Regions from separate parts of the Homo sapiens genome. Here region 1 is linked to region 2. Evidence: promoter capture Hi-C in human tissues and cell types (Jung and others, 2019). All regions are on one chromosome and are shown on one strand. Each heading gives the region's core, a stretch centred on a gene start or on the middle of the fragment in contact. The rest is flanking DNA. Distances are from core to core; before and after follow the strand shown.

Region 1 (2,874 bases), core at 50-2,549, 450 kb before region 2:
AAGGATTTCCCACAGTCACTACATTCATAGGGTTTCTCTCCAGAATGAATTCTGTGATGGGAAAGAAGGTTAGAGCTCCCTGAAAAGGCTTTCCCACACTGACTACACTCAAAAGGTTTCTCACCAGTGTGAGTTCTCTGATGCATCACAAGGTAGGAGCTCCTTGCAAAGGCTTTATTGCACTGATTGCATTTGTACGGCTTCTCCCCAGTGTGAATTTGCAGATGCCTGATGAGCTGAGTGCTTCGATTGAAGGCTTTTCCACACTCGTTACATTCATAGGGCTTTTCTCCAGTGTGAGTTCTTTTATGTGCAACTAACTGATAGCTTTGGCTGAAGGACTTTCCACAGTGAGTGCAATCGTACGGTTTCTCTCCAGTATGAATTCTCTGATGTATGACGAGGTTAGAGTTCCATCTGAAGGATTTCCCACATTCAATACACTGATACGGTTTTTCTCCAGTGTGAATTCGCTGATGCGTAATAAGTTTGGAACTCTGGGAGAAGGATTTCCCACACAGGTTGCACTCATAGGGCTTCTCTCCAGTGTGTGTCCTCTGATGTACAACAAGGTCATACTTCTGGCTGAAAGATTTCCCACACTGAGTACATTTGAAGGGTTTTTCTCCAGTGTGCGTTCTTTTATGTGTAACTAACTCATAGCTTTGGCTGAAGGACTTTCCACAGTGAGTGCACTCATACGGTTTCTCTCCAGTATGAATTCTCTGATGTACAATGAGGTTAGAGTTCCACCTGAAGGATTTTCTGCATTCAATACACTGATACGGTTTTTCTCCAGTGTGAATTCGCTGATGTGTAATAAGTTTGGATCTCTGGGTGAAGGATTTCCCACACAGGTCACACTCATAGGGCTTCTCTCCAGTGTGTGTCCTCTGATGTATGACAAGGTCATAGCTCTGGCTAAAAGATTTCCCACACTGAGTACATTCGAAGGGCTTTTCTCCAGTGTGTGTTCTCTGGTGTATGAGCTTACAACAGCTGAAAGATTTTCCACACTGATTACACACAGATGGCTTCTCTGTAGTCTGAATGATGTTACAGTCAGAAAAAGATGAGGCCATGGGGAAGGCAGCACAGCGTTCCTCACATCTGAAGGGGGTCTCTCCAGGGCCACTTCTTTCTGTTTGTACAAGGCACAGACTCTCAGAACAGGTTTCCCTGCACTCATCACACTCATACTGACTTTTCCCAAAATGCACTGGCTTCTGTTCATTCAGAGACACACTGTGACTGAAGAGGTTTCCATAATCCTTACAGTCATCACTTTTCTTCACTGAAAAAGTTCTACCATGAAAACAAAGGGAGGAACCATAGTTGAGAGAGTCACCACTGACAATATATTCATAAGGGTTTTTCTTTCCTGTTTCAACGTTTCCAAGTTTACTCAAGTAAATACTCTGACAGAAAGCTCTAGCACACTGATGACTCTCACAGTGCTTCCCATCTGCTCCATTTTTCTCATGATTAATGAAAGCTGAATTTTGTTTCAACTCTTTAACTTGTGAGTTGGGCTTAGGGAAACCTGTACTTGTAGGTAATGTTGTAGGTAGAAGGCTTAAAGTAGAAGGTAGAGAATAACCTCCCCCAAGTTCAAGCTCACAATGTTCCCTTTGAGCAAACAGTCTCTCTGAGGTGAGTACCATGAACCTCAAGGAGTTCTCCTGGTGTTCCCTTAACTGGTTGCTCTGATCTTGCACTTTTCCTAATACCAAAGAGGGTGGCTCCTCCGGTCCACTCCTGTACACTTCCACGTGGTGGGATAGTTCTTCCCTAGCTCGATCTTTTTCAGAATTCAACCTATTCTCCTCAAGGGTAGCTTTCCAGTCTGAAAGAAATCCAAAATGCCTAAGTTACTGGAGAAGCATCAGAGGGGGAGGGGGAGGGGGAGATGAAGGAGACAACTGTTTAATGGAAGTGTCTCTGGTTTGTTTCCAAACTACAAACTGTAATCCGTATGCAGGCTGTGAAAGGGAGGGATGGATCAGCAAACATGGTATCAGTGGTAAAGTGCAAAATACAAGCAAACATAATAAAGAAGTGACTAAGTAACACTAGTCCCCAAATAGAGGGCAGAAGAATAAGAATAAGCAGGGAGGGGCCAGGTGCAGTGGCTCACACCTGTAATCCCAGAACTTTGGGAGGCTGAGGCAGGTGGATCACCTGAGGTCAGGAGTTAGAGACCAGCTTGGTCAACATGGTAAAACCTCATCTCTAATAAAAATAAAAAAAAAATTAGCCAGGTGTGGTGGTGGGCGCCTGTAGTCTAAGCTCCTCGGGAGGCCGAGGCAGGAGAATCGCTTGAGCCTGGGAGGTGGAGGTTGCAGTGAACCAAGATCGGGCCACTGCATTCCAGTCTGGGTGAGAGAGTGAGACCCTGTCTCAAAAAAGAGAATAAGCAGGGAGGTGAAGATAAAAAGAGAAATCCACAGAATGAACTGGGTCTGCAGGATATAAAGCCATTAACCATTGCAAAAAGTATGTATGTTCTAAGCCCCTGGACTCTGTGAATGTGAACTTTTGGGAAAAAGGAACTGTCCAGATGTGATTAGAATTTTATTATTATTATTTACTTAGTTTTCTACAGTCAGGATCTTGCTCTGTTGAACAGACCGGATAACAGCACAATCATGGCTCACTGCAGCCTCAAACTCCTGGGCTCTTGTGATCCTCCCCGACTGGCCTCCCAAAGTGCTGGGATTACAGCCAAGCCAATGTACCCTTCTGTGATTAGTATTTTTATTTTATTTTGTTTTGTTTATTTTTGAGACAGAGCCTGGCTCTGTTGCCCAGGCTGAAGTGAAGTGGCATTATCTTGGCTAACTGCAACTCCACCTCCCAGGTTCAAGTGATCCT
Region 2 (3,346 bases), core at 394-2,893:
AGAACTTTAACACTGCCCGTGAGGGTCTGCGGCTTCATTCTTGAAGTCAGCGAGACCAAGAACCCACCGGAAGGAACCAATTCTGGACACAATACCTTTCAAACAAGGGACCTGTCCAGGCTTCCTTCTGATGACCAACCCACCTCTAATGCTGGCCAGTCTATTTCACACAAAGTTCTAAGTTTTCCTGGTGTCATAGTAACACTGTAATCTCCCTTAAATCCTTTCTTGAAATGTTTCAACATAGTTCCTAGTGAAGTGGGCTTACTTTGTGCCTGACCCATGCTTCTTTGAGACAAAACACCACGCTCACACCACACGCACACCACAAAACAAAGAACAGGTAAAAAGGGCACACATACACTTTTACCGTTTACACCAAACCAGAATCAAAATCCAAATCAGAGTATCCAGAAATCCAAGCCAGGTCAAAACCAAAACGAAAGTATCAAGCAATCCAAATCAAGTCAAAAACAAAAACCAAAGTGCCGGTACAGGCATGCCGTGGGTGATCAGGCCACCCTTCCACTCAAATGGAGTGGGCAAGTTCCAAAGACTAGTCTTACCAAGTTTCAGATGTCCGGACTCCAAGTGCCTGTTCCTTCCCAGTGTTCAGCCGCTGCATTGATCCTCTGTGGGGGCCTGCCACACGCCACTCTGGCGAGGTGTTCCACTGGGGCAATTGCCTACCCGGGAGTGCTCTCAGGTTCTGCGTCCCTCAAGCTGGCCAGAGTCCCCTGTAGGGATGCTCCACAGGGCAGGCCTAAGCTGCCTAAGGGGCTGCCTCGACTATCTGTTAATCACCTGGCTTCCCAGTCAGGGAACCAAGAAATGTAGCAGGACAAGCCGCAGGGCTGTATTCAGCCTGGAGCTTTGGCAAGACTCACATCTCCAACTACCAAGCTCCCCAAGTGAGGAATTCCTGTCCCTTTTAAGGGCTTACAACTCTAAGGGGGTCCACATGAGAGGTTTGTGATCGATTGAGCAAGCAGGGGGTACACGACTGGGGGCTGCATGCAGTGGTAATCAGAACGGAACAGAACAGGACAGGGATTTTCACAATGCTTTTCCATACAATGTCTGGAATCCATAGATAACATAACCGGTTTGGTCAGGGGTCGATCTTTAACCAGGCCCAGGGTTGGCACCTGGCTGTCTGCCTGTGGATTTCATTTCTGCCTTTTAGTTTTTACTTGTTTCTTTGGAGGCAGAAATTGGGCATAAAACAATATGAGAGGTGGTCTCCTCCCTTAACAGCACAAACGCTTAATTAACATTTCTTTTTCTTTTGAGACAGGTTCTGTCGCCCAGGCTGGAGTGCAGTGGTGCAGTCATAGCTCAGTGCAGCCTGGACCACCTGGGCTCAAGCAGTCCTGACACCTCAGCCTCTCAAAATTTGGGATTACAGGCGCGCGCCACCGTGCGGGTCAGGAGGCTTCCCTGAGGGCCCCGGAGGTGGAGCTGGGCTTTTCCTTCCGAAGCGCCCCTGGGAATCTCTCTCTTTACGGCCTTGGAACCTGGGAAACTACATTACCCAGAAAGCTCTGCGTCAAATGACAGCACGGCAGAGCCAGTGAGAGTTCACATTGAAGGCGTTTCCGTGTGCGCAAGTAAGGTAGAGGCGGGACTCCCGGCGCCCTTTAGTAGCGACCATTTCCATTGGCGTTAGGGAGTCCTTGGAGCGCTGTGTTGGGACCGTGGTGGTGACTGGATCCAGGAGGTCGAGAGTCGTTCTTCTCTTTGCACAGACGTGACTCTGCAGCTCTTTAACGGCGCCCGCTGCTCTCAACCCAGCTTACCCCACGTGGTCCCATGGCGGCGGCCGCGCTAAGGTTCCCCGTTCAGGTAATTGTGGCGCCTTCCGTGCTCTCCGGTCACCTCCTAGTCACACAAGTCCTAAAGCAGCGAGGGAGCGGCACCTGTTTACGGCTCTGCAACCCGGACCCGGCGTCGGGACACTGAGGCGCTCTCGGGAGGGATCCCTGTTTCAGACACCCGTGGGATGCGGTGGGGAGAGCGACAGGTACAGGGAGGGGCGCGGGCAATGGCCTGGAGATGGACGGATCCGGGAGGATGGAACCTGGGGTCCACAGGCGCCTGTAGGGAACAACCTGTGAGGCGGAACTCCTCCTGGAAAAGCAAGGAGGCTGGGGGCTGTGAAATCATTGCGAGGACACTAGAAATAGGAGAATTTCCAAGAAAGAAGGGACTGGATCAAAGTCCAGGCTTTTAAAGTTTCCTAAAGGCCAAATAAATAACAGAGTAGAGAGGGGATGACGTTGGGGCCCTTTGAGATTGAATCCTTGTAGATCATATAGGTGGTAGAGATGACACTTTGTGCTGAGACACGCAGGTTAGACAATAGTCCAAGGTCACCTGGCTCCGTGGACACAAAAGCGTTCAGGGAGGCCTGAGCTTACCAGATCCTATCAGGGACACAGTCCTGTAAAGTCAGCCTCTTCCCTCAGGCCTTTATGGCTGTAGAAGCATTTAAGGAACGCATACAAGAAAGTGGAGGGTGGGGCCGGGTGCAGTGGCTCACTCCTGTAATCCCAGCACTTTGGGAGGCCTAGGCGGGTTGGTCCGGAGGTAGAGACCAGCCTGACCAACCATGGAGAAACCCTGTCTCTACTAAAAATACAAAATTAGCCAGGCGTGGTGGCGCATGCCTGTAATCCCAGCTACTTGGGAAACTGAGGCAGCAGACTCGCTTGAACCCGGGAGGCGGAGGTTGCGTGAGCCGAGATCGCGCCATTGCACTCCACCCTGGGTGACAGAGCGAGACTCCGTATCAAAAAAAAAAAAAAAAAAAAAAAAAAAAGAATGAGGTGCGTTCAGAGAGGGTATCTCTGCTGTGCTGAAGGTGCCACATTGGGCTTTCCATGACCTCGGCCATACTAGGGGAAGTGCCTGTCAGGAGGGGGTGGACTCTTATATCACAGCCACCGCACAGATACCTATTTGTTCAACTAACTATTGTTGTTGGTGGCTGTACCCCATGACCAGTGGGCCTAGTTTCTCCTATGTTTGAGGACCTTGAGAGGAGGATGTGCGAGAGTAGATGTGTGGGAGAGATGGATTGTGATACCTCAGCATAGGGGTGGTTTGTGGTTTCATCTGTCAACATCATAACAGGGCACAGTGACTTTTGAAGACGTGGCTGTGAAATTTACCCAGGAGGAATGGAATCTCCTTAGTGAGGCTCAGAGATGCCTGTACCGTGATGTGACGCTGGAGAACCTGGCACTTATGTCCTCCCTGGGTAAGTTGCCCACACTCACCCCTGTGACCTGAGCTAGTCTCTGTCTTTCCCCCTCTTTTTCTATTGGCAAGACTTTCTCATGTC

The links. Contacts are between HindIII fragments. The study calls those that stand out against the background at their distance.
Region 1: a fragment that was not itself captured here is called in contact with the fragment with the promoter of ZNF552 in region 2 in 1 of the 25 tissues and cell types used here (dorsolateral prefrontal cortex).

The regions. Positions count from the first base shown.
Region 1 is chr19:58,259,823-58,262,696 of GRCh38, reverse strand. It overlaps ZNF544 (zinc finger protein 544), which reads right to left. Exons shown (of 7, transcript NM_014480.4): 7 at 1-1,846. The region is part of intron 2 of ZNF8-DT (ZNF8 divergent transcript); the gene reads left to right. Among named protein-coding and RNA genes, the nearest start is that of ZNF8-DT, 17 kb to the left of the region's middle. The HindIII fragment of the contact is 3,084 bases long and covers 1-2,841 here.
Region 2 is chr19:57,813,210-57,816,555 of GRCh38, reverse strand. ZNF552 (zinc finger protein 552) reads left to right here and starts at 1,643. Exons shown (of 3, transcript NM_024762.3): 1 at 1,643-1,845; 2 at 3,136-3,262. The coding sequence starts at 1,813. RefSeq lists an enhancer at 1,319-1,368. The HindIII fragment of the contact is 37,727 bases long and covers 1-3,346 here.